Regions from separate parts of the Homo sapiens genome. Here regions 1, 2, 3, 4, 5 and 6 are each linked to region 7. Evidence: promoter capture Hi-C in 16 types of primary human blood cells and fetal thymus (Javierre and others, 2016). All regions are on one chromosome and are shown on one strand. The core of a region is centred on a gene start or on the middle of the fragment in contact, and the rest is flanking DNA. Distances in the headings are between cores, read along the strand shown. Region 1 overlaps GNL2 (G protein nucleolar 2). Region 2 overlaps MEAF6 (MYST/Esa1 associated factor 6). Region 3 has its middle 24 kb from the start of LITATS1. Region 4 holds the start of SMIM12 (small integral membrane protein 12). Region 5 has its middle 4.9 kb from the start of GNL2. Region 6 overlaps SNIP1 (Smad nuclear interacting protein 1). Region 7 holds the start of OSCP1 (organic solute carrier partner 1).

Evidence for each region. Contacts are between HindIII fragments. The CHiCAGO score rates a contact against its expected background, and 5 or more counts as called.
Region 1: a fragment that was not itself captured here is called in contact with the fragment with the promoter of OSCP1 in region 7 in 1 of 17 cell types (endothelial precursors); the score reaches 8.0 in endothelial precursors.
Region 2: a contact is called between a fragment that was not itself captured here and the fragment with the promoter of OSCP1 in region 7, in 1 of 17 cell types (endothelial precursors). The highest score is 5.3, in endothelial precursors.
Region 3: a contact is called between a fragment that was not itself captured here and the fragment with the promoter of OSCP1 in region 7, in 1 of 17 cell types (M1 macrophages). The highest score is 5.1, in M1 macrophages.
Region 4: the fragment with the promoter of SMIM12 here is called in contact with the fragment with the promoter of OSCP1 in region 7 in 1 of 17 cell types (naive CD8 T cells); the score reaches 5.6 in naive CD8 T cells.
Region 5: a contact is called between a fragment that was not itself captured here and the fragment with the promoter of OSCP1 in region 7, in 1 of 17 cell types (endothelial precursors). The highest score is 6.5, in endothelial precursors.
Region 6: a fragment that was not itself captured here is called in contact with the fragment with the promoter of OSCP1 in region 7 in 1 of 17 cell types (endothelial precursors); the score reaches 5.4 in endothelial precursors.

Annotation. Positions count from the first base shown.
Region 1 is chr1:37,566,932-37,570,876 of GRCh38, reverse strand. GNL2 (G protein nucleolar 2) reads left to right here. Exons shown (of 16, transcript NM_013285.3): 13 at 1,575-2,026; 14 at 2,520-2,602; 15 at 3,113-3,204; 16 at 3,870-3,945. Among named protein-coding and RNA genes, the nearest start is that of DNALI1, 12 kb to the right of the region's middle. RefSeq lists an enhancer at 1,463-2,662. The HindIII fragment of the contact is 695 bases long and covers 2,348-3,042 here.
Region 2 is chr1:37,509,128-37,513,167 of GRCh38, reverse strand. It overlaps MEAF6 (MYST/Esa1 associated factor 6), which reads left to right. Exons shown (of 7, transcript NM_001270875.3): 3 at 3,626-3,713; 4 at 3,845-3,890. Among named protein-coding and RNA genes, the nearest start is that of MEAF6, 3.6 kb to the left of the region's middle. The HindIII fragment of the contact is 4,004 bases long and covers 1-3,537 here.
Region 3 is chr1:37,448,538-37,452,601 of GRCh38, reverse strand. No RefSeq gene overlaps it. Among named protein-coding and RNA genes, the nearest start is that of LITATS1, 24 kb to the left of the region's middle. RefSeq lists enhancers at 1-642, 45-1,244. The HindIII fragment of the contact is 7,035 bases long and covers 1-4,064 here.
Region 4 is chr1:34,858,251-34,861,728 of GRCh38, reverse strand. It overlaps SMIM12 (small integral membrane protein 12), which reads left to right and starts at 1,980. Exons shown (of 2, transcript NM_138428.6): 1 at 1,980-2,052. RefSeq lists a silencer at 2,029-2,158. The HindIII fragment of the contact is 6,874 bases long and covers 1,300-3,478 here.
Region 5 is chr1:37,598,883-37,602,732 of GRCh38, reverse strand. No RefSeq gene overlaps it. Among named protein-coding and RNA genes, the nearest start is that of GNL2, 4.9 kb to the right of the region's middle. The HindIII fragment of the contact is 1,106 bases long and covers 1,651-2,756 here.
Region 6 is chr1:37,536,899-37,540,355 of GRCh38, reverse strand. SNIP1 (Smad nuclear interacting protein 1) reads left to right here. Exons shown (of 4, transcript NM_024700.4): 3 at 1-199; 4 at 2,344-3,457. The coding sequence ends at 2,608. LOC105378649 (a long non-coding RNA gene) reads right to left here. Exons shown (of 3, transcript XR_947190.3): 3 at 1,620-1,667. Among named protein-coding and RNA genes, the nearest start is that of SNIP1, 16 kb to the left of the region's middle. RefSeq lists an enhancer at 1-665. The HindIII fragment of the contact is 3,056 bases long and covers 1-3,005 here.
Region 7 is chr1:36,448,501-36,452,289 of GRCh38, reverse strand. OSCP1 (organic solute carrier partner 1) reads left to right here and starts at 1,839. Exons shown (of 10, transcript NM_145047.5): 1 at 1,839-2,032. The coding sequence starts at 1,921. It overlaps LOC107984940 (a long non-coding RNA gene), which reads right to left. Exons shown (of 3, transcript XR_001737976.2): 3 at 2,725-2,832. RefSeq lists a silencer at 1,444-1,713. The HindIII fragment of the contact is 5,222 bases long and covers 1-2,210 here.

The sequences.
Region 1 (3,945 bases), core at 1,446-3,945, 1.1 Mb before region 7:
TATCTTTGCGGTTACCTAAAACAGGCCAGTCATTTCAGGGTCCCCAGACTTAGTTCTCTAATGAACTCTCTTCAATCACAGAATTCCCCCTCCTTACCTTATACTCTTGCTTCAGGATGCCTCCTATCTTAGTCTGTTTTGTGATGATGCAACAGAATACTACAGATTGGGTAATTATAATGAACAGAAATTGTTTTGGCTCATGTTTCTGGAGGCTGGGAAGTCCAGTATCAAGGCACCAGCATCTGACAAGGGTCATCCCATCGTGGAAAGTGGGAGGACAAGAGCAAGCAAGAGAGGGTCAAACTTGCTTTTATAACAAACTCACTCTTTTTTTTTTTTTTTTTGAGACGGAGTCTTGCTCTGTTGCCCAGGCTGGAGTGCAGTGGCACGATCTCGGCTCATTGCAACCTCTGCTTCCTGGGTTCAAGTGATTCTCCTGCCTCAGCCTCCTGAGTAGCTGGGACTACAGGCATATGCCACCAGGCCCAGCTAATTTTTGTATTTTTAGTAGAGATGGGGTTTCACCATGTTGGCCAAGCTGGTCTTGAACTCCTGACCTTGTGATCTGCCCACCTTGGCCTCCCAAAGTGCTGGGATTACAGACGTGAGCCACCACATCCGGCCAACAGACTCACTCTTAAAAACGAACCCATCCCCGAGATCCATTAGTCCATTCATGGGGATGGAGCCCTCATGATCTAATTACCTCTTATTAGGCCTTACCTACCAACACTTGCTGCATTGGGGATTAAGTTTCTGTATCAGTCCATTTTCATACTGCTATGAAGAAATACATGAGACTGGTTAGTTTATAAAGAAAAAGAGGTTTAATGGACTCACAGTTCCACATGGCTGGGGAGGTTTCACAATCATGGCGGAAGGTGAAGGAGGAACAAAGGCATGTCTTACATGGCATCAGGCAAGAGTGTGTGTCCAGGGAAACTGCCCTTTATAAAACCATCAGCTCTCGTGAGACTTAATTCATCATAGGAGCGGCATGGGAAAGACCTGCCCCCATAATTCAATTACCTCCCACCCGGTCCTTCCCACAACACATGGGGATTATGGGAGCTACAAATCAAGATGAGATTTGGACACAGCCAAACCATACCAGTTTCCAACATATGAATTTTGGGGGACACATTTAAATCAGAGGACCTCCTCAAATGCCTCTCTTAGTACTGTTCTCATCTGTAACATCCAGCCTGGCCTTCATTTTTATGTAGTTGTGTGTGCTGATTTTGCATGTGCTTATATCAGCAGCCCCCTAGGGAAGGTCTAGGGAGCCTTGCTTTTCTATGATAAATCATTGGTTGGTTTTAATGGTTTAAATAGTCTTAGTTGGTTCATCCTGTGGAACTACACATGTATTCCTTTGATCCTAGTACTGATCTCTGGGCTTAATGTACATTGGTTTAAAAATACATTAATGAAATGACTCAAATTTGGGTGTTTTCAATACCTTCCCTTAGTCCTGAGAAGAGGACTGTTTAAGAGCAAGATATGAGTTCAGAAATTCCATTTTTCATTTTCTGATTCTATTTATTTCCCCCATTTCCACCCCTTAATAGCTTCTACCCTCCTCATCTTTGGAAGTTGTCCCAGAAGCAGCCCAGAACAATCCAGGGGAGGAAGTCACAGAAACTGCAGGTGAAGGGTCAGAATCCATCATTAAGGAAGAAACAGAAGAGAACAGTCACTGTGATGCTAACACAGAGATGCAGCAGATTCTCACACGAGTTCGGCAGAACTTTGGTAAAATCAACGTGGTGCCTCAGTTTTCTGGGGATGACCTGGTTCCTGTGGAGGTGTCAGATCTTGAGGAAGAGCTTGAGAGCTTTTCTGATGAAGAGGAGGAGGAACAGGAGCAACAAAGAGATGATGCGGAAGAGTCTTCCTCGGAGCCTGAGGAGGAAAATGTGGGAAACGACACCAAAGCCGTTATTAAAGCACTGGATGAGAAGATTGCCAAATATCAGAAGTTTCTAGACAAAGCCAAAGCCAAAAAGTTTTCAGCAGTCAGGTAATATTTTCATCTTCTCACAAATTGCAGATTTTCATTCCTTTCCCAAAAATTTGCCATGAGTACCAGAGCCATATTTTTACATGGGGTTATTGCCATTTGTTTGTTCGGTTGGGTTTTTTGTTTGTTTGTTTTTTGAGACGGCGTCTCGCTATGTTGCCTAGACTGGCCTCACTCTCCTGGGTTCAAGCAATGCTGTCATCTCAGCCTCCTAAGTAGCTGTGACTACAGGTGTGCACCACCACACTTGGCTGTTATTGCCATTTTTAAAAAGTGAACTGTAAATTTTGTAAAATTCAGCTGCCTGCAGTATGAGAAGCTTTAGAAACACCCAGGGAGGTACAAACATGTTGGATGTTGACTTCTTCCACTGGTGATAACTACTTGGATAGGAGTGGGGTTTCTTTAGTCTGTGAGTTTGTCGCAGGTCTCCAGGTCAGTATGTGATTCGGGCGAGTGAGAGGAGGAATGTTACTTTGCTTTTCTGTTTCAGAATATCCAAGGGACTGAGTGAAAAGATATTTGCAAAACCTGAAGAACAAAGAAAAACACTGGAAGAAGATGTAGATGACAGAGGTGAAGTTAAATTATTTCAATCATTTAGATGTAATTTGCATATTTAGAGTTTTGAGAAACCTAAGTTCAGTCTCCAAATTATCTCAGTCATCCACATAAATGTTTGTCATATCTGGCAGATTACTTTAAATTTACATAGTGTTATGCAAATTGAATTATCTGCTTTTCATTCTGCACATTTTTTAGGATTAAATTGGCAATTCAGGAAACTTCCTAGAAAGGGTTCATTATTAACCTAGAATCCAAGGGTGGGTCCACAGACAAAGAGGGGGGTGTGTTTCCTGCATTTATCCATTCCTCCATTTGACCATCAGCTTTCACACTGAGAGCATGGCTTAGGGCATCCTTTTACCTGGCAGCCTCCCCTTGGCCTGCTTTACTCACCACTGTGCTCACCTGCTCTGTCCACATTGGGTGTCCTCCTCCTGATACATCAAGCTTGTTCCCACCGTTGGGTTTATAGACAAATTTTCAATAGAAAATTCCTGTTTGTGTATTGTTTGTATCCAGCACCTTCCAAAAAGGGAAAGAAGCGGAAGGCACAAAGGGAAGAGGAACAGGAACATTCAAATAAAGCTCCCAGGGCGCTTACATCAAAAGAAGTAAGTGTCATAGGTTTTAAGTATGGCCCAAGTAGAGTAACTAGAACTCCAGTTGTCAAGACCCACTGAAACAAATGGTCCAGAGCTGAATCCCAAGAACCCCAGTCCTCGTTGACCTAGTTGAGGTCAGATAAATAGGGTCGGGTCTGGCCCACTAGATGCAGGTCCTTGAGTCCATGTCATACGTTTTAGGAGTTTCTAATCAACGTCTCCACACGAGTGGACTATCCTCTAGAGGAGTCAGTTTCTAGTCCCAAGGGAAACGACCCAATGAGCAGATCTGCTTTGGGCAGATCACTGACTTCTGTGAAGGACAGCTTTGGAGCTGAGCTGTTCAGAGCTAGAGTGGGCCCTCTGGGGAGGGGAGTGGTTAGCAGCACTCAGCCTTGCTGCAGGGGACTTGTCAGGAGTGATGCAGAACAGATTCTTGCACTGGCTAAGGGTTGGATCACATGTGGATTTGTAACTTGGAGTTGCATAAGTCACAATGGAAGAGTAACCTTAGGTCTACGGGGGAGCCCTCCCTCATTAGCACTGCTTCCAGTAGCTGTGGAAGCAGCACGGGAAATAGAACACAGAGATGAGAAGCAGAGACTCCTGTTTTGTGAATGACTTTCAGGGTTTTGTTGTTTTTTTTCTTCATCTTTTCTTGCCATTTTTTACAGCGGAGGCGAGCAGTACGACAGCAACGGCCGAAAAAAGTTGGTGTGCGCTACTATGAAACACACAACGTGAAAAATA
Region 2 (4,040 bases), core at 286-2,785, 1.1 Mb before region 7:
ATTCTATTAAATTTTTTACACATTTTAATCAGTCATGAGTTCTACCCTCACAGTATTTTTCTTTTCTTTTTTTCTTTTTCCTCCTGAGTAGCTGGGATTACAGGTGCGTGCCACCATGCCTGGCTAATTTTTTTATTTTTAGTAGAGACGAGGTTTCTCCATGTTGGCCTGGCTGGTCTCGAACTCCTGACCTCAGGTGATCTGCTGCCTTGGCCTCCCAAAGTGTTGGGATTACAGGTGTGAGCCACCACGCCTGGCCACTTTTCTTTTTTCTAAGAGACAGGGTCTCACGCTGTTGTCCAGGCTGGAGTGCAGTAGCACGAACTTAGCTCACTGCAGCCTCAGACTCCTGGGCTGAAGTGATCCTCCCACCTCAGCCTCCCAATTAGCTGGGACTACAGGCACACCATACTGTACCTGACTAATTAAAAACTTTTTTTTGTAGAAGTGGGATCTCACTTTGTTGCTCAGGCAGGCCTGGAACTCCTGGTTTCAAGCAGTCCTCCTGCCTCAGCTTCTCAAAGTGTTGGAATTAAAGGGGTGAGCCACCACGCCCAACTGACCCTCACAATTTTTGCCATACCTGTGTGCCAGCTGTACCACTGCTTACTTAGTAATATTATTTTTAAAAAATTTCTAAACTTTTAGAAAATCTTCAAATTATAGGAAAATGGGAAGAATAGTATATGAACACTTGATACCCTCCTACCTATATTCACAAATTGTTAATGTGTTGTGACATTTGCTTTCTCTTACTTTCTATAATATATATTAATATAAGCACACATCTATATTTACATTTCACATTTTTAAATTGTGAAATAATTATAGATTCATAGGGAGTTGGCAGAATGGTCTCTTGTACCCTTCATCTGGTTTTCCCCAATGGTTGTGTTTTATGTAGCTATAATACAGTATCAAAGCCAGAAAATTGACATTGGTACAATGTATATATATAGTTCTGTGTCACTTTATCTTGTGTGTAGATTCATGTAACCACAATGAAGTTACTGAACTATTCCATTACCACAAAGATCTTCCTCATGCCACTCCTTTGTAGTTATATCTCCCAGTCCCCCTACCTTTTTTTCCCACTTAACGGTTTGAAAGTTAGATGCAGGTAAATGACACTTTGCACCTAAATGTGTCAGTAATTACCTCCTGAGTATAGGGCCATTTCTTCTACCTAACCAGTTATTATACCTAGAAAATCAATACTGCATTAATAGTATCTAATACATAGTCTTTATTAAAATTTCCTCAATTGTCCCCAAAAATTCTTTGCTAATTTGTTTTGATCCAGGATTCAGTAAGCATTCATGCATGCATTTGGCTATTATGTCTTAAGATTGAGGAGAGTCACCCTTTTGGTGGTGGTTGTGGTGGTATTCATGACATTGCCTTGTAGAATGTTGCAGTTTCCTGAGATTTTCTGAGGGCAAAACTCATGACTGATTAAAAGGGTCCTGAAAGATCCTTTAAACATTTTTGCAAAAATCTTACATAGGCAATTGGTGTATCCTTTGTTATCTATCTCTAGTTTATCAGGAGGCACATAATGTCACATTGTCCTATTATTTGTTGCTGCTAAGTTTGATCATATGATTTATCTGCTATAAAAGTTCATTTTTTCCCATTGTGATTAACAAGTAATTTTGGATGTTATGCTTTGAGACATTATGAATATACTGCTCCCTCTAAATTTGTATTCAGTTGTTTAGTATACACCGTTGATTCTTATCTGAATCCGTTAGTACACTGGAAGTTGTAAAATAGTGATTCTCTAATTGTATTATTCCCTTTATATTTATTACTGGCATTCTGAAAAAGAGTCTTCCTTTTTTGACTTCTGTTTCTTTCATTCTCCCACATTTGTCCCAGCTGTGGTCAGAGGGAGCCTCCTCAAGCTGGCTTGTTTGTCGTTTCAACATGACCCTATTACTTTTGGAGTACTCCATTGCTTTCTGGCCTAAGAGATGTCCCATACTTACCTTTTGCATTTTTTGTCCCAGACCTGGTATCAGCCATTCCTCTAAGGAACCCTGGTTCTTTCTTTAAATTTGAGAATTAAGTTTATTTAAGAGACACTTCATATCACTAATCTGTTCTCCACTTTTTAAATAATAAGCATTAAAATAAATATATATTGGCCGGGCATAGTGGCTCACGCCTGTAATCTCAGCACTTTGGGAGGCCGAGGCGAGTGGATCACCTGAGGTTGGGAGTTCAAGACTAGCCTGACCAACATGGAGAAACTGTCTCTACTAAAAGTACAAAATTAGCCGGACGTGGTGGCACATGCCTGTAATCCCAGCTACTTGGGAGGCTGAGGCAGGAGAATCGCTTGAACTCGGGAGGCAGAGGTTGCAGTGAGCCGAGCTCGCGCCATTGCAGTCCAGCCTGGGCAACAAGAGTGAAACTCCGTCTCAAAAAAATATATAAATAAGTAAATAAGGTAAAATAGATACGTATTAAAATGAAAGTGTGGCCAGGCACAGTGGCTCACACCTGTAATCCCAGCACTTTGGAAGGCCAAGGTGAGTGTATCACTTGAGGTCTGGAGTTTGAGACCAGCCTGGCCAATATGGTGAAACCCTGTCTCTACTAAAAATACAAAAATTAGCCGGGCATGGTGGGGTGCGCCTGTAGTCCCAGCTACTTCAGAGGCTGAGGCAGGATAATCACTTGAACGCAGAAGGTGGAGATTGCAGTGACCCTGGATCGCACCACTGCACTCCAGTCTGGGAGACAGAGTGAGACTCTCAAAAAAAAAAAAAAAAAAAAAATGGCTAGGTGCAGTGGCTCATGCCTGTAATCCCAGCACTTTGGTAGGCTGAGGTGGGCAGATCATGAGGTCAGGAGTTCGAGACCAGCCAGGCCAATTTGGTGAAATCCCGTCTCTACTAAAGATACAAAAAAAGAATTAGCTGGGTGTGGTGGCACGTGCCTGTAATCCCAGGCTACTCTGGAGGCTGAGGCAGGAGAATCGTCTGAACCTGGGAGGTAGAGGTTGCAGCGAGCTGAGATTTCCCATTGTACTGCAGCCTGGGTGACAGGGCGAGACTGCGTCTCAAAAAAAAAAAAAAAAAATGTCTGGGCGCGGTGGCTCATGCCTGTAATCCCAGCATTTTAGGAGGCTGATGTGGGTAGATCACCTGAGGTCAGGAGTTCAAGACCAGCCTGACCAACATGGCAAAACCCCGTCTCTACTAAAAATACAAAAATTTGCCAGGTATGGTGGTGGGCACCTGTAATCCTGGCTACTTGGGAGGCTGAGGCAGGAGAATCGCTTCAACCCAAGGGGCAGAGGTTGCAATGAGCTGAGATTCTGCCATTGCACTCCAGCGTAGGCGACAGAGCAAGACTCCGTCTCAATAAATAAATAAATAAGTAAATAAATAAATAAATTTAAAAAATGAACATGTGAAGCAACTAAATCTCATGTCTCACAGTGGGACATGTACCATATATTGGAAAACGTTGCTTTCTGTGTTCAGCATAAAGGTCGTTTGGGCCAGTCTGAGTGACATGGAAGCTTCCTGCATGGAACATGAGTCCTGGGGCATCCCCAGCTTGAGCCATAGACATAGCTTGGTGCTCATAATGAGTTTCTTCTGTGTTTTAGAAACTCCAATAGCAAAAATGATCGAAGGAACCGGAAGTTTAAGGAAGCTGAGCGGCTCTTCAGTAAATCCTCGGTTACCTCAGCAGCTGTAAGTAGTGGTGGTGGGGGAATCTTTCTTTGGCCTGTTGTTGGGGAATGTGTTTTTTCTTTACCTTCCTCTGGGAGTGCTCTTCTGAGGTCTGTGGTCACTTTTCTAGTAACTGGTGGCTTTTCTTTTAGGCAGTAAGTGCATTGGCAGGAGTTCAGGACCAGCTCATTGAAAAGAGTAAGTTGATGTTTTTATGTTTCTCATCAGTTTATTTTTAAGCTACCATCACCCTTACACTTAATTCATCCAATTGTGTATCTGAGGACTGCATTTCTTATGCTCTTCCCTTTTCCCTCTTCTTCCTGGAAGTTTTGAAACTTTTAGGGT
Region 3 (4,064 bases), core at 523-3,022, 1.0 Mb before region 7:
AGGCATTGGAGGTGTCCTTCCGGGCCTGGTGGAAGTGGGCTAGGGGCTGTGAGTGAGAAGACTTCTATAGGCCGAGGCACTGGGTAGACACCTCACCCCCAGCCATCTGTGGACCCTTTGTGACCCTTTATGCTCCATCTCTGTCTCCCCCACAATCACCGGAGAAACAGGATCTGGGAATTCTGCCTTGGTGGCCGAAGCAGAAGTCACTGCCCTCCTAATGCCACTCATCGGACCACACAACACTTTCACCGCCAGTCCTTGTGTGATTTGATCTTTGCAAATCAGAGATAGTACTGTTAATAATTTCCCTGCAGGAAAGAGGAAGTTAAGGATATGAGGAATTGCCGTCAGGATCAGAGGTAAGGCCCGGAATCCCAACAGACTCCCATTCCCAGCACCTTCCGGGCACCCGCCTTCGAGGCCTTTCCCCTCCCTGCCGCTTTATAATGCTAATTGAGGGAATGAGTTTCCTTGGCCTGAGAGTGGGCTAGGGCTGGGGCTGGGACCCAGGGCTTAGGCAATCCCAAGGGTCTGGAAAGGAAAACAGGTCAGGAGTAGAACCCTTTCCCAACACCATGGGCCAGCTCCCAGGCCCCATCTTGGGCGTGGGGGATTTGGAGTAGGATGACCATATAATTAGTCATCCAGATTAGGATACGTTTGGGAATGAAAGGGAGTGTCATTAAAAGTTACCCTAGGGCGGCCGGGCGCGGAGGCTCACGCCTGTAATCCCAGCACTTTGGGAGGCTGAGGCAGGTGGATCCAGAGGTCAGCAGTTCGAGACCAGCCTGGCCAACATAGTGAAACCCCATCTCTACTAAAAATACAAAAATTAGGCTGGTGGCTCACGCCTGTAATCCCTGCACTTTGGGAGGCCGAGGCGGGTGGATCACCTGAGGTCAGGAGTTTGAGACCAGCCTGGCCAACATGATGAAACCCCATCTCTACCAAAAAATTAGCCTGATGTGGTGGCGGGTGCCTGTAATCCCAGCTACTCGGGAGGCTGAGGCAGGAGAATCGCTTAAACCCAGGAGGCAGAGGTTGCAGTGAGCCAAGATGGTGCCACTGCACTCCAGCCTGGGTGACAAGAAAAAAAGCTGGCATCGTGGTGTGCACCTGTAGTCCCAGCTACTCAGGAGGCTGAGGCAGGAGAATCGCTTGAATCCGGGAGGCAGAGGTTGTGGTGAGCCAAGATCGTGCCACTGCACTCCAGCCTGGGCAACAGAGCGAGATTCCATCTCAAAAAAAAAAAAAAAAAAAGTTACCCTAGGGCAATAGCTGAGAACCCCCACGAGGTCATTCTGTGATGGAACCCCTGCCCTGCCCTCCCCCTCCGCAGCTTCAGACCCCCACACCCTCTCCTGCTGCTGTGTCTCCAACTGATGCTGAAAGTAAAAGCCGCCACTCACTGGCCGGTTACCTGCCCAGCACTCCACAGAGCTTGTTTTTTGTGACCTTCATGACAGCTGTGAGTCTCATTTTATTGATAGAGACACTGAGGCCCAGAAGAAACTGGCCCAAGAACACACAGGTGGTGAGTGGTAGAGCTGGGATTTGAACCCAGGGAGGCTGGCTTTCCTTGGAAGGATTATACGAACATTTTAATTGGTTTGGCCCACAAGAATTGAATTGCGAAGGAATGAGGCTTCCCAAGCCTTTCATCAGACCGTCCGCAGTCTCTTGTAGCTGTCTTCAGCTCAGGGACATCATTAAAAGGAACTTTGCAGCTTGGGCAACAAGGTGAAATCCTTTCTCTACTAAAAAAAATTTTAAAAATTAGCCAGGCGTGGTGGCGCGAGCCTGTGGTCCCAGCTACTACTTTGGAGGCTAAGGTGGGAGGATCACCTGAGTCTGGGAGGCAGAGGTTGAAGTGAGCCGGAATCGTGCCACTGCACTCCAGCCTAGGCGACAGAGAAAGAACCTGTCTCCACAAAAATATTTAAAAATTACCTGGGCGTGTTGGCACGTGCCTATAGTCTCAGCTACTCAGGAGGCTGAAGTGGGAGAATTGCTTGAGCCCAGGAGTTTGAGGCTGTAGTGAGCCATGACACTCCAGCCTGAGTGATAGAGGGAGACTCCGTCAAAACCAAACAAAACACAAAACAAAACAAAAACCCAAAAAGGCCGGAGAGGTGGCTCACACCTGTAATCCCAGCACTTTGGGAGGCTGAGGTGGGAGGATTGCTTGAGCCTGGGAGTTCTAGACCAGCCTGGGCAACATAACGAGACCTTGTCTCTACAAAAAAACAAAAAAAACTAGCTGGGCATGGTGGCATATGCCTGTGATCCCAGCTACTTGGGGAGGGGTGCTGAGGTGGGAGAATCCCTTGAGGCCAGGAGGTCGAGGTTGCAGTCAGCTTTGATTGTGCCACTGCACTCCGGCCTGGGTGACAGAGCTAAACCCTGCCTCCTAAAAAAAGGAAGTGGGTGGCGGGTATGGGGGAGGGGGATGTGTGGGCAAGGGAAGGAGGGAGGTGCACTCAGCAGGGGCAATGTGTAAGGAGTATGCAATGGAAGGGAGGCAGCCGGATGTCATTAGTCAAAGTTAACATTTGTTATGGACCTACTGCATACCGGGCTCTATTTAAAGTGTTTTCAAGGTACTATTCTATTTAATCTTCATACCAACCCTATAAGCTGGGTTGTTTTACAGATCATCACTACGAAGAGCAAAACAGGCCACTTGCCCACCTTGACAGAGCTGGTAAGTGGCAGAGCCAGGACCATCCAGACGGCTCAGCTTCCAAGCCAGCAAGCCTCATCGCCATGCAGTTTGTCCCCAGGGAGGAAGGATGCTTCTGGTCCCAGGGTCCAGGATGCTCTACCCTCCTTCCTCTAGGATATCCAGGGGGCCAGCTTTAGTGAGAGGAGAGTGCATGGTCCAGCCTTCTGGGGGCACCCAGAGTGTCCCCTTCCACTCCCAGCTTCCCACTTCTGCTCCACTGTCTCCCTGCAGGAGGCTCTGGGAAGGCAGAGATGGAGCTGTGGTCCCCACCGCCTTCTGTGGCAGCTCACTTTCATTCATTTTCTTTAAATGCTTCTCACTCTCTGTTTTTAAATCTAATTTTTCAGCTTCTTTTTCATCTTCATTCAAGTTGCTTTAATGAAACGAAAATGTGTCTGTTTCCCTCTGCTGGAGCTGCCCGGGGAATTTCAATATAAAACAAACAAGTTGGCTTTTAAAATTAAAATTTTATGGGTGGCATTTCCTCATTTAATGGGTGGCACAAAAGAGTGGAGTAAAACCAATTAACATGGGGTTGAGACTCGGTGTTCAGAAAAACTAAACAACAGGAGCGCGGTGCGCCAGGAGCCAGGAGCAGTTCCAGCAGAGGCTGGGGAGGTGCGCGGGTGAGGCAGTTGTGGAGGCTCCCCCCACTCCCTGGCAGCTGTGTGCACCCAGGTCGGGCACTAGCACATACAGGGATGCCAGCCTCAGCTCCCCACCCAGCTCTACCCCCAGGACCCATGCCCAGGGGTTGGTGTGCACATCTACCTTGCACATTCAGATGGCAGGCGATAGTGGGGGCTGAGAATGTGGAGGGGCGGGGGAGGCTGCCTTGGAGCCCTGGGGTCCTGGACACTGTTGTCTGGAGAAGCATTAGGAAGTAGCTAAGGCCTCTGCCAGGGCCAGCATTCATTCGGATAGTTATCCTCTGACGCAATCTGAGTCCTACTCACGAGGGCCTCATCTTCATCATGGCTATGCCCCAGGGCCCAGACCGCACCAGGAGTGTGGCAAGTGCTGCATAGATGCTGGATACCTGGATGAATGACTTCATTCCGGCAAACAATACTAATGGAAATCCTGCTCTGCTGTGACTCCCTCAGGGTGGGTGTCACCCGGCATAGGGTGTGTTTGGGGTAGAAATGGTGAAGATACCACAGGAGATCTGAGGAGCAGGGGCATGCCTGGGTGGCGCTGCAGGGAGAGAATGGCTCTGTGGAACTGGCAAGGGCAGAGTGAACAGGGCTGGAGAAGAGGCAGTCCGGGCAAGGGCGGGGTGGGGAGGGAGCTGAGAAATTGAGGTGGCTGAATCTGGCCTGGAAGGAAGTAGGGG
Region 4 (3,478 bases), core at 731-3,230, 1.6 Mb after region 7:
AAGACTGAGGAAGGCAACTACGCCTGGATGGATTTTTCACAAGATGATGCCTGTTTCTCGGGCTCATTCAAATTCTAAAGAGAATCATTTACAAGTTAATTTCTGTCCATTTTTTCGCCCTAAGAATCACTTGCTGCCCTCAGAAGAATTGTCTATATTCTCCATCTCTCCCCTTCCCCTATGAAAAAGAGTGTATACGCTTCTGTACCCCATTGGGTTATTGGGTAATCATTCTCCTGTGACCCTTCCCTTCCCACCCCCTCGCCTCCCCGCCCCGTGCTATGCACGTTAAAATAAAATTTTGTATGTCTTTTCTCCTATTAATCTGCCTTTTGTCAGTTGATTTTCAGTGAACCTTGGCCCCTACAATACTGTTCCCTTTTCTCCATCTTCACTGCCAGAGCTTAGCTTTGAGCTGTTTGAGATAATAGAGGAAGGGTGTCTAATGTGATAAGCAGTCTATGTATGAGGCTTCCTCTGGAGGTGACCCTTAAGCTTGAAAATTGTGCCAGAGCACAATCTGGCATAGTAAAGAAAGGTGGGAAGGGCACTACATGGCCAGGCACGGTGGCTCATGCCTGTAATCCCAGCACTTTGGGAGGCTGAGGCGGGCGGATTGCTTGAGCTCAGGAGTTCGAGACCAGCCCTAGCAACATGGTGAAACCCAGTCTCTACAAAAAGTACAAAAATTAGCCAGGCCTGGTGGTGTGCATCTGTGGTCCCAGCTACTCGGAAGGCTGAAGTGGGAGGATCACTTGAGCCCAGGAGGTTGAGGCTGCAGTGAGCTATGATTGTGCCACTGCACTCTAGCCTGGGCAACAGAGCGAGAGTCCTGTTAAAAAAAAAAAAAAAAGCGGCCAGGCGCAGTGGCTCACGCCTGTAATCCCAGCACTTTGGGAGGCCGATGCGGGCAGATCACCTGAGGTCGGGAGTTCGAGACCAGCTTCCCCAACATGGAGAAACCCCTTCTCTATTAAAAATACAAAATTAGCCGGGCGTGGTGGTGCATGCCTGTGATCCCAGCTACTCAGGAGGCTGAGGCAGGGGAATCACTTGAACCTGGGAGGCGGAGGTTGCGGTGAGCCGAGATCACGCCATTGCACTCCAGCCCAGGCAACAAGAGTGAAATTGAACAACAACAACAAAAAAGGTGGGAAGGTAGATGAAAAAGCATCAATAAGGCACTGAGGTGTGAAACAGTGTGGTCTGCCGGGTTTAGTATGTGCGAGCAAAATAAATATGCAGGCTGAGATTAGTGGGATGAGGGTGGGAAGGGCCTTGTGGGAGCATTAACAAGCTTGAGCTTTGGGACTTTTCTGTATATGATAAAATTGATGTCTGTATAGGGTACAGTGGGGACACAGAGGAGGAAGTGAATACTTGTACCCAAGAGGTCATGTAAGACTTAGGTTTTACTATATTTGAATTATTTTTACACTAACAATAGCCACATTTATTTCCCTGCTGGCTGTGTGCCTGCCACAGTACTTTACAAATATTATCTCTTCCAACCCTCACACCATCCTTGCGAAATGGGTGTTATTACCTCTACACAGAAGGGGAAGGGAGGCTCAGACAGGTTAATAATGTTCCCAAGGTCACTAGAAAGCTAGCCCGGATCCCAAGAGGTCTTAAAGCACTAAAATATACTCTTCTAAGAAGAGCTTCTTGAGGTCAGGGATCATGTCTTTTGTTTTTGCGTGCCCAGACCTAGGTCTTAGAAGACGCCTAATAAACATCAGTTGAAAAAAATGACTGGATGATCTTTCACTTTTTCCACGCAGAAAACACGTGGCGACATCACTGAGAAACCTCCCGGCCAACAGAGGGCGCGACGTCCATTTCAGCGCAGTGGGGCCCAGTTGCGGACGCCTAGCTTCCTTCCGTCCTTTGGCTGAAGTTCAGCCAATCCCTGCGCTCCGAGAGAGCCGGCGGCCAGTGGGCAGGGTCACAGGGCAAGGTCCCGCGGGCCGCTGGGTGCGGCGACTTCCGTGCTCCCGGCGAGCGGGCGGAGAGCGGGGGCCGCACTGGGGAGTGTGGGCTGGGCCGCAGGTGAGCGCGCGGTCCCGGCGAGCAGGTCGGGTCAGCCCAGGCCAGTAACCTCTGAGTTACGGGAGGAGTGATCGCTAGGGTCCACCCCGGTCCCGGCCAGATCTGCCAGCTCCCCTCTCTGGCGGGTGTTCTGGTGCCAAGTCTGGGAGCCCAGGTAGCCCTCCGCAGACAGGGCTTCTCGGCACCTCAATGAGGACGGACGTTGATGAGGCCATGAATGAGGTGGGCTAGGGACAGGGGACCGGGAGACTCACAGAAGGGAGAAGGGTAGCCATTTGGATGGACCTTCGCCTTACTTGCGCTCCCATTCCTGGACTGCGCTCTAGTGACTGTCAGGGCTAATTCTTCCGCCTTCTCAGGCCTCCTGTGTCCTTGTTAGTAGTTCTTGAATTTGGGACTACGGCTTCTGGCCTCGTTGGGCCTCCGGGCCCTCGCACTGGGGCAGGTTTCCCAGCAGCCCAGTTGACCTTTACCGGATGCTTTTGGCAGACGTCCTCCATGCCGGGCTGGAAATATGCGTCACAGTGTTTTTCAGACACTTTTGCCTCTTTCATTGTGATACCCTGCCTGGGGACGACTATGATGGAGTCTTTAGGTTTTTGTAATCAGCAAAGGCATCTGTTATGCTCCTGCCACCTTTTGGGGGAGAGTGGGTGGAGGATGTTGTGATTTTACACTAGGGAGTTTGGGCTGTCATTCATTCGTTCAGCAGACCTTTTTTGGGCACTCTGCCAGGCAGGGTAGGAGAGGTGCCTGGATGGATAGGGCATAATTGGGCCAGACAGACACGGTTCTTAGCCTTTTGGAGCTTAAAGTGTCTTGAGAAACGCAGACAGGGTAAGCCAGCATCGTGCCTGACACAGAGTAAGTGGTTATAAGTGTCGAATAAAGGAATGAATTGACTTATTTGGGAATGATTAGAATGTGAGCAGGACGGTAGCGAGAGACTTTATGCTGCATGTGAGAGATAGTTGTGAACTCATGCGCGATATGTTTTAAGACAGGTTTGGAAATCTGAACGGACAGTTGCTATTTAGGGAAGCATTTACTTATACAGAGGACTTGCTTTAAAGGTGGAAGTAAAATGGAGAAGTATTAGGTTTGGGATTCTTCAGAGGTGCCTCTTTTAACTATTACTATGTCTCTGAATTTCATAAATCCCTGAGTACAATCTCAGAGTTTGGGAAAAGGAAAGCTCTTCTAGGTAATGAAATGCCAGGCTGATGGGAAAAAACTGTAGGAAGCTCTCCCTAAGTCCAGGGTTTGGACAGAAACCGTATACCTCTGCAGTGTGTTCTTCCCACTAGAAAGAGTGTAGGCTTTGAAATTGGAGAGGCCTGGGTTCAAAATCAGTGGCTCTATCACTTCTAGTGATCTTGGATAAGTTAACATAATGTCTGTGAGCCTTTGTGGCCTTCACAAGAGT
Region 5 (3,850 bases), core at 954-3,453, 1.2 Mb before region 7:
TGACGTAGGAGAGTGGGGAGGACACAGCAAAACCTGAGTCCCCAGGTCCTGGGCACAGTGACTGGGCATCTTGGGGATTTCCCTAGCTCTAGCTAGAAGCAAAACTGACAACTTTAAAGTCTCTCAGATAGACTTTTAAAGCATCTAGAAGGGGCTAGGTGCAGTGGTTCATGCCTGTAATCCCAGCACTTTGGGAAGCTGAGGTAGGTGGATCATTTGAGGTCAGGAGTTTGAGACCAGCTTGGCCAACATGGTGAAACCCTGTCACTACGGAAAATACAAAAATCAGCTGGGCATGGTGACAGGCACCTGTAATCCCAGCTACTCAGGAGGCTGAGGCAGGAGAATTGCTTGAACCTGGGAGGCAGAGGTTGCAGTGAGCCAAGATCGCATTACTGTGCTCCAGCCTGGATGACAGAGTGAGACTCCGTCTCAAAACAAACAAACAAACAAATGACAACAACAAAAAACCATCTGGCAGGGCGTGGTGGCTCATGCCTGTAATCCCAGCACTTTGGGAGGCCGAGGTGGGCAGATCACGAGGTCAGGAGATCGAGACCATCCTGGCTAACATGGTGAAACCCCGTCTCTACTAAAAATACAAAAAATTAGCCAGGCGTAGTGGCGGGCGCCTGTAGTCCCAGCTACTCGGGAGGCTGAGGCAGGAGAATGGCGTGAACCCGGGAGGCCGAGGTTGCAGTGAGCCGAGATTGTGCCACTGCACTGCAGCCTGGGTGACAGAGCCAGACTCTGTCTCAAAACAAAACAAAACAAAACAAAACAAAAACATCTAGAAGATTCCTCCAAACTGGGTTAAAAAGTGAGTAGGAAGGATTGCTTTTCCCAAAGATGAGGGAGTGATAGACTTATCTTTTTCTAACTGGGGCTCTAAAAAAGGAAACATAGCTAAAGGTTTTGACTAGTTCTTCCTCTGCTGCTTGAGAAGATATTCACCCTGACTTTCTTCCATACCTTTGCCTGAATCTCTATTTTAGAAATAAGATTTTGTTCCTAGTCTAGACAGAAGAGCAAGAGGGATGGAGGAGGTCAAGGAAAATCTCAGTGTCTTGCTGGGCAGAGGATGCCCTTAGGGCAAGACTGAACTTCTGACAGACAGAGCTCCACTGATCTGTTGGTTTTAGATGGGAAGTTAACTTTTCAGATTCTTTAACATGACATTATTCTACTGGAAACAAACCAAGGGACCTGGATAAAGTTTTTAAAAAGTGTTTTCTTAAAGAAAAAGGAGGGAGGTAGGCAGGAGAGAAGGGAGTAAAGAATTACACAAAGATTTGGTCTAACGGCTTCAAAATCAAAAGGATCCCTGGACAGATAGATATTGAGTGTAATAGGAAACACACTGATCCTGGGGAGATGACTTAATATAGGCCCTCCAGCCTCCTCAGAGCTTAAACAATTACCTACAATTTGGAATTATACTTTAAATTCCCACATCAATGTGTGTTCTGGATCCACTTCTCAGGACACGGCCAGCAGTCTTGAGTTATCTAAACCATGCTGAAAATTAGAGGCCATTAATAGCATCTCATAAAAGTGCTTCTCAGATTTTCTTGAGCAGAATATGCCGAAGACCACAAGGGATTTGGTGATAGGAAGGAGCGAAATGCTTCTAGTTATTTTTCCAAAGCTTAATCTGGGGATCTTTTTGAAGAGCTCCTACCCAGCAGTGAGATGCATGCCAAGACTAATACGACTGTTTTTCCCACTTAGAAGTGGTGACCATGAAGAAAAGTTTCTTGGGGTTCCCAGAGGTGAGTCTCCTAGCCATTTTTACAGGTAGCAAGCCCACTAGTTTGCTATATCCTTGTCCAAGAATTTCCCAGACACCCTAGACTGAAAACTGAGGGTAACTTGGCCTATGAAGCTCTAAGTTAATACACTTTTCTTTTCTTTTCCTTTTTTTTTTTTTTTTTTTTTTTTTGTGGCAGGGTCTCACTGTGTCGCCCAGGCTGGAGTGCACTGGTGTAAATCTTGACTCACTGCAACCTCTGCCTCTCAAGCTCAAGCAATTCTTGTGCCTCAGCCTCCCTAGTAGCTGGGTTTACAGGCGTGTGCCACCACGCCCGGTTAATTTTTGTATTTTTAGTAGAGATGGGGTTTCACCATGTTGGCCAGGCCGATCTTGAACTCCTGACCTCAGATGATCTGCCTGCCTTGGCCTCCCAAAGTGCTGAGATTACAGGCATGAGCCACCACGCCCGGCCGAACTTTACTTTTCTGATACTTGAATTTGCTTGTAAAACTGTTGAGGTTGTATAACCAAGGACTCACTTTTTTGTTTTCTATCAGTGAAACAAAACAACAAAATCCTGAAGATGTATATTCTGAGCCTTTCTCTGTTCTTCCAGAGTCCCAGAACCTAGCATTTGGGGACTAGGACTGTTTCACATTGGGCAGCGGCCATTCCAGGGGCCCAACTCTTGGCCTCAGCAGGCACGGGTCAATGCTTCATGGGCTTGCCAGAGGAGAGACACAAGAGGCCCCAAAAGAGCAGCTTCTGCTAGCAGTTCAACTGGGAAGTACAACTCAACAAGCCGGCACTAATTAAGAGCTAATGGCCTTACAAATGAGCATTGCCAAAGGATAACGACCCTCCGGCTGCAGCATAAATATCAAGGCATTTGGGGCAGAGCCAAGATATATATTTTCAGAGTGCATTAGACACTGCAGCAGCCTTCCTCACCCTGGCTCTGCTAAGAAGAACAAGATGATTTAAGATAGGTAGGAAAGAAGCTTGATCTTCCAGGGCTGCCTTCTGGTCAGCAGGTCAGAAAGCCTCCGAGTGACTCTTGGAAAAGACTTCACTTTTGTATATACAAGAATCACTTGAGGAGCTTGCTAAAATGTAGATTCTCTTGGCCCCACCCCCAAGATGGTCTGATTTTGGAAGCTCTGGGATAAAACCCAGAAATCTGCATTTTTGTTTTATTTTATTTTATTTTTGAGACAGGATCTCACTCTGTCACCCAGGCTGGAGTGCAGTGGCACGATCTCACTGCAGGCTCCACTTCCCAGGCTCAAGAGATTCTCCAGCTTCAGCCTCCCAAGTACCTGGGACTACAGGTTTGAGCCACCACGCCTGGCTAATTTTTGTATGTTTTGTAGAAACAAAGTTTTACCATGTCACCCAGGCTGATCTCGAACTCCTGCGCTCAAGCGATCCACCTGCCTCTGCTTCCCAAAGTGCTGGGATTCCAGGCATGAGCCACCATGCCCAGCATTTTAAAACAGATCCCCCAAGTGATTCTGATGCTTGTGGTTCTCAGACCACACTTTAAAAAATGTTGCTTTAGAAGCTGCTGCTATTTGCCCATTAGACCCCAGTGATAAACTTTTTACAGAATGAAGATAAAAGTGAGGTCAGGGCCCGGCACACTGGCTCATGCCTATAATCCCAGCACTTTGGGAGACTGAGGCAAGTGGATCACCTGAGGTCATGAGTTCAAGACCAGCCTGGCCAACATGGCGAAACCCCATCTCTACTGAAAATACAACAATTAGCTGGGTGTCCTGGTGGGTGCCTGCAATCCCAGCTACTCGGGAGGCTGAGGCAGGAGAATTGCTTGAACTGATGAGGCAGAGGTTGCAGTGAGCTGAGATCGTGCCATTGCACTCCAGCCTGGGTGACAGAGCAAGACTCTATCTGAAAAAAAAAAAAAAAAAAAAAAAAGTAAGGTCAGGATTGTCTGCTTCCTGTGAAGACACCAGTCCAGAACATGGCATTTCCAGCCAGTCTCCATCCATTAAGGTCTTCTCATTCACACAAACCTGTGGTTACCAGGAGCAACATTTGAGGGGATGAGTAGCTCACCTTGGATTTTGAGAAAAA
Region 6 (3,457 bases), core at 228-2,727, 1.1 Mb before region 7:
TCATTAAATATAGTGAGCCCCCAGAAGCACGTATCCCCAAAAAACGGTGGCGTCTCTACCCATTTAAAAATGATGAGGTGCTTCCAGTCATGTACATACATCGACAGAGTGCGTACCTACTGGGTCGACACCGCCGCATTGCAGACATTCCAATTGATCACCCGTCTTGTTCAAAGCAGCATGCGGTCTTTCAATATCGGTAAGTAACATGGAGGAAGAAACTGTAATGTGAGCAGAAACAATCACTCAGTTAGGATTACTAAGATTTTTGTTCATGTTTATGCAGAAGAATCCCATACCCCTCATATGTTATCTAAAGAGTATTGTTAATCTAACTGCCCTTTAAATAATTGCTTACATATTTATAAGAACATTAAACTTTTAATCTATTTTTTATTTTTTTGTGACAAGGTCTCACTCTGTCACCCAGTCTAGAGTGCAGTGGAGCAAACACAGCTCACTCCAGCGGCAACCTCCTGGGCTCAAATGATTGTCTCCTGCCTCGGCCTCCTGAGTAACTGGGACCACAGGCGTGTGCCTCTGTGCCCAGCTAATTTTGAAACTGGATCTTGATAGCTTGCATGGGACATCTGTGATGATTCTCACAACAATCCTGTGAGAAGGATAGGATAGATTTTTTGTTTTTTGAGACGGAGTCTCGTTCTGTGCCCAGGCTGGAGTGCAGTGGCGCGATCTCAACTCACTGCAACCTCTGCATCCCGGGTTCAAGTGATTCCCCTGCCTCAGCCTCCCGAGCAGCTGAGAGTACAGGCACACACCAGCACACCCAGCTAATTTTTGTATTTTTAGTAGAGACGGGGTTTCATTGTATTGGCCAGGCTGGTCTCGAACTCCTGACCTCGTGATCCGCCTGCCTTGGCCTTCCAAAGTGCTGAGATTACAGGTGTGAGCCACTGCGGCTGGCCCGTTTTGTTTGTTTGTTTTTTAACATGGTCTCCTGACTTCGAATGGACACGTATTTGTATCCCCATTTGACAGATGAGAAGACTGAAGCCCAGCAAAACCAAGTGACTTGCCTAACAAATGATCACTATAGTACAGTGGTCCCCAACCTTTTTGGCACCAAGGACCAGTTTCATGGAAGACAGTTTTTCCATGGAACCGGGGGAATTCGGGATAATTCAAGTGCATTACATTTATTGTGCACTTTATTTTCTAATACTATCACATTGTAATATATAATGTAATAATTATACAACTCACCATAATCTAGAATCAGTGGAAGCCCTGAGCTTGTTTTCCTCCAGCTTGATGGTCCCATCTGGGGGTGATGGGTGACAGTGACAGATCAGGCATTAGATTCTCGTAAGGAGCGCGCAACCTAGATCCCACCTGTGCACAGTTCACAATAGGGTTCATGCTCCTACGAGACTCTAATGCCACTGCTGATCTGACAGGAGGCGGAGCTCAGGCAATGATAATTCAAGTGATGGGGAGCAGCTGAAAATATAGATGAAGTTTGGCTCGCTTGCCTGCTTGCCCGCTGCTCACCTCTTGCTGTGTGGTCCGGTTCCTAACAGGCCACGGACTGGTACCAGTCCATGGCCCAGGAGCTGGGGACCCCTGCCATAGTAGAACTCTGGCTCAAATATAGCTCCCTTGACTCTGAAGTCCAAGTGCACTGTTTTTTCCCATTTGGACAGGAACTAAAATATATTGAAATATAGGTTAAAGAAACATTATGTTGATTATAAACAACAGAAAAAAATGTATTTTCTTAACCACAGCAAGAGACATTGGATTCTGCATTTCCACCTTTTGATCTACCATGGATTCTCCCCACCTTCCAGCAACTCATTCTCACCTTTTTTTTTTTTTTTTTTTTTGAGACAGAGTCTCGCTCTGTTGCCCAGGCTGGAGTGCAGTGGCGTGATCTCGGCTCACTGCAACCTCTGCCTCCTGGGTTCACGCCATTCTCGTGCCTCAACCTCCCAAGTAGCTGGCTCCACAGGCGCCCGCCACCATACCTGCCTAATTTTTTTGTATTTTTAGTAGAGACGGGGTTTCACCATGTTAGCCAGGATGGTCTCCATCTCCTGACCTCGTGATCCGCCCGTCTCGGCCTCCCAAAGTGCTGGGATTACAGGCGTGAGCCACCGCGCCCGGTCCATTCTCACCTTTTCTAAGTATATTTAAACTTCCAATTTTCCTTCCCAGGGCCATGCTTTCCCCTTGATTTCTTTGATTCCCTAGAATTTTAACTTGAATTGTGCTCAAGCCAGGTTATTTACGTCATCTAGGCTATCTTAGCAAAGAGCTTTAGAGAAGCTGGATGATCTGAGGCAGAAGTTTGCTCACAGGTTTCTCCTTTTTTTCTGCTAGGCTTGTGGAATATACCCGTGCTGATGGCACAGTTGGCCGAAGAGTGAAGCCCTACATCATTGACCTTGGCTCAGGCAATGGAACCTTCTTAAACAACAAACGTATTGAGCCACAGAGATACTATGAACTAAAAGAAAAGGATGTACTCAAATTTGGATTCAGTAGCAGAGAATACGTCTTGCTCCATGAGTCGTCGGACACTTCTGAAATAGACAGGAAAGATGACGAGGATGAGGAGGAGGAGGAAGAAGTGTCTGACAGCTAGCAAACTAAGAACCCAAACTATTGATACACGGTTTCCTTCTTGGAAGTCTTTGATTGACTCAGAGAGCACTATGGTGGTGGGTCCAGCACTATGGTGCTCTCTGTAATGCCTCTTACTGCCTTAAGTCTTTCCTCTGTTGCTGACCAGATTGTGTTACCATTTGAATACACTGACTAATGTTTGTTAAACTTTTTCTGTGGCACCTTGGCCACATGCCTGCAGGCATTTGTTTTCAGAACAGTCTCACCAATTACAACACACCGTGTTTTAGTAGAAGTGTTGTGGTTTTAGTTGGTGCTTTCAGAACTGCTGCCTAGGAAACTATAAACCCTTGGTTAAGGGGAAATCATGGCTTGTTCTCTTTGTACAGTTACTTTATTTATATAGGTGTTAAGCTTTGTGGACCAGGTGTTTTTCTTTTGGGGCGAACCCCTGAGCAGAGAATCTTACTAGGCTTTGGTTATCACCAAAACAACCTCCAGTATATACCAAAGCTTTGACTTGTTTGAGCTCTTGAGCTTAGAAGTTGATTTTGCACTTATTTTTTTGGGGGGTGGGAATGTACTGCAGTCAGTAAACATTATTGACTGTTTAACTTAAACAGATGCTTTATGGCACCTGCTCAAGCCCGTGACTGTACAGAAGGATCCTGGTTGCTACCAGTGGGTGCTGATTCAGCATCACAAGTGACTGAAATTGGCTGTGGATCTGTTCTTTGTGAAAGAATTCCTGATTTCTCCATGGAGCATGTACACAACAATTTTGATCATATTAACTGTACTTCAGTTTTGCATTTTTATTCAAATGTTATCTCTTTTTTTCTTTGAGAAATAAACTGTCACTGATGTG
Region 7 (3,789 bases), core at 590-3,089:
CCCTATCTCTTTAAAAAAAAAAAAAAAAAAAAGGTAGCTGGAGCCTGTGGAGAGCCTGGAATGCCATGCCAAGGCATCTAGACTGTGATCTGGCAAAGAGTAGGAAACCACTGAAGGGATGTGTCATGTTGACAGTGATGCTGGCCGGGCGCAGTGGCTCATGCCTGTAATCCCAACACTTTGGGAGGCCGAGGCGGGCAGATCACCTGAGGTCAGGAGTTCGAGACCAGCCTGGCCAACATGGTGAAACCCCATCTCTACTAAAAATACAAAATTAGCCGGGCATGGTGCCCTGGTCCATGCCTGTAATCCCAGCTTACTCAGGAGGCTGAGGCAGAAGAATCGCTTGAAACCAGGAGGCGGAGGTTGCAGTAAGCCGAGATCGTGCCATTGCACACCAGCCTGCGCGACAAGAGTGAAACTCCATCTCAAAAAAAAAAAAGTGATGTCTTCTGACATTTAGCTTAGCAGCCAGTGCAAGGTAGAAGAGAGAAAAGAACAGTGATACAGAGGAACATAGCAATGCAGACAGAAAAACAAATGAAGGGATGAATGTAAGAAAGGTGTTGGAGGAAAAAGCATAATATGATGACTGATAAAAGACCCTGGGAAACAGATTTGGAAGCCAAGGCCCAAGTTTCAAGTTTGAGTAGCTGGAGGGAAAGATAATTAGTAGGTTTTGGAAGTACTGAAATTTACAGAAATGGTTGTTCATCAGAGTAAAAATATACAGCAGATGGCAAAAAGTAATCCTGGAGCTTAAGATGGAGGTAAGGAAGGGAGTCGCTGCCCTCAAAGAGAAATGGTTGGGGCCGGGCGTGATAGCTCACGCCTGTAATCTCAGCACTTTGGGAGGCCCAGGCGGGCAGATCACCTGAGGTCAGGAGTTCCAGACCAGCCTGGCCAACATGGTGAAACCCCGTCTCTACTAAAAATACAAAAATTAGCCGGGCATGGTGGCGGGCGCCTGTAATCCCAGCTACTCGGGAGGCTGAGGCAGGAGAATCGCTTGAACCCTGAAGGCGGAAGTTGCAATGAGCCGAGATGGCGCCACTGCACTCCAGCCTGAGCGACAAGGGCAAAATCCGTCTCAAAAAAAAAAAAAAAAGAAAAAAGAAATGGTTGGGAGGCCTTCGGAACAGCGTCGAGGAGGGAACTTCCCAGAGCCCCCAGGCGCATCCTCTGGGAACTGGACACACGGGGACGGACGGGACTGGTTTGCTTCATGGAGTATGAAACCAGGAGGGGCTTCACTTCAAGTAAACTTTTGGGAGGCGATGCAAACGACTCAGGACTTCTGATCCTTCCCTCGTCTAAAAGAAAAGTCAGTTACCATTTTTATTGAGTGCTTTCGGGGCCTTTCCATGATCTGACTGATTCCTCTCAGCCGCCCTGTGATGTGAGTGCCAGCTCCATGTTACGTAAGAGGAAGCCAAGGCTCAAACCCTGCCCGAAGTCACACAGCAAGAAATCACGAGCCGTGATTCCAACCCAGGTCCGTCTGACCCGAGCCTGCTCTAATGCCGTTCTGCCTGGGCTTTCCTCTGTTATAGGAACCTGAGGCCCCGCGCCAGCGGCCGGGGTCCCAAGCGCCGGGCTGGCTGTGTCGAGACCACCCCCAGCCCTGGCCCGGCCCTCGCCCTTTCGAGGGAAACCTACTCTCAGAAGCACAGCTCCCCAGCCGCGCCCAACGCCGCGCCGGCCTCTGGCTCGGACCAATCCCCCCGGGACGGTCCACCACCCAGACCAATTAGCTCCCGTCTTCAGGGCACCTCCCACCAAACCGCCTTCTGATTGGCTCGCTCTTCCCGTCACGGCGTTGCCCCAGCAACCGGACTATTGGGACGCTGCGGCCTGGCCTTCAGGCCACTGGCTACCGAACCCCGGGGCTCTTCACCAGTCCAGCTCGTTTCCAGCACCATGTCGGTGCGGACGCTACCGCTGCTCTTCTTGAACTTGGGCGGGGAGATGCTTTACATCCTCGACCAACGGCTGCGGGCCCAGAACATCCCGGGAGACAAGGCCCGCAAAGGTGAGAGGCCCCCGGCCCGCTCAGCCAGACCCGCAGCCAGCAGCCCGGCCCTCTCATCATCGCCCTAACACCCACAGCCAGACCCGCACCCCTACACACTTCACTCTTATAACCAGGGACCTTTCTTACAAGCCACATCCATTTGGAGCCCCTCGGGAGTCAAATCCCCCCAAAAGCTTTTTTCACAGCAGAGGAACTTAATACTCCCAGTGGACACTAGGGTGCCTGACCTCCCTAATTTCCCCATCTCTTCAAATGGGAGAGGTGATTTCCCAGTCTCTCTTGTCAATCAGTGCCTTCCAAATGTAGGAGTCCCAGCTGCCCACCATCTAGTATCATACCCCTTGCTAGTCCAAGCATCCTCTTTACCCCCAAGGAACAGGTTCTGATTTTTTTTTTTTTTTTTTTTTTTTTTTTTTTTTGAGACAGGGTCTCGCTCTGTCGCCCAGGCTGGAGTGTGTGGCACGATCTCGGCTCACTGCAACCTCTGCCTCCTGGGTTCCAGCGATTCTCGTGCCTCAGCCTCCCAAGTAGCTGGGATTACAGGCATGCACCACCACACCCAGCTAATTTTTGTATTTTTAGTAGAGATGGGGTTTCACCATGTTTCCCAGGCTGGTCTTCAATTCCTGGACTCAAACGATCTGCCCCCCTCGGCCTCCCAAAGTGCTGGGATTATAGGCGTGAGCCACCGCGTCCAGCCCAGGTTCAGATTCTTAATTTCTTTATGGTAGTATCTTCCCACATAAGCTGGAGATTGGTCTTACTCATCTCAGAAGTATTTCTAGAAATTTGGTGTTCTAAAATAATATAGATAAATATGAAAAAAATAAGAAAGTTATAAATCTCCTCACAAGTGTTGGAGGGGAATACAATTGTGAAAATAATTATATGAGAGCTTCGAAAATGCAAAATCTGCCTCCCATGGACACCACACTAATCCCCAGAAAAATGACGACTCAGAACACTCTGCCACTCTGTTCCTTTTCCTCTTTTCCTCCCTTCTCGGCAAACAACTTGCTTATACCAAATTTCCTAGGATTAAGTATGAAGGAAATATTATATTTCAAAGTGGAGGAGGAAAAGTTGAAAAGGCAATTGACATGGCCGCCAATTAAAACATTCTCTCCATTAATCTTTGTATGCTCAATTGATGTTCAACATACATATTCAGATGCTAAGCATACATATTCAGATATTAACTATTGTGTGTGTGTGACTGAGTGCAAGTCCATGCATAAAGAGCTAAAAATAACTCCCTATAACATACCCCCTCCATTCATTCTGCACATTGCCGCCAATGAGCTTTCTAAAATGTGTATCTGTCCAAACTTGCCCCTGCCTAAAACCCTTTGTCAGCTTTCCACTGCCATCTGGGTTAAGACCAAGTCCTTGCACAGGCCATTTCAGGGCCCTTCCTTATCTGATCTCTGTCTTCCTCTGCAGTCCCTTCTTCCACCACTGCCTGCCTCCTGTTTCCCAATAATACCAAACTGCTCATAGATCTCCGCTTAAACCATGTTTGTTCGTATTTCTGTGCTAGTAATTCCCATCCCTACATTCTTCCCCTTCAATCCTGCATTATTCGGCTTAAGAATCATCTCCTTCAGGAATCCTCCCCATATGCAGAAAGGGCCTGTGCATGCTCTCATAGCAGCCTGTGCTCCCATAGCACCCCATGCCTGCTCCTCAGTACCTTACCACTGGCCATGCTATACTGAAATGATCTGTGTATATGTCTATCTCCCGCTTGATTG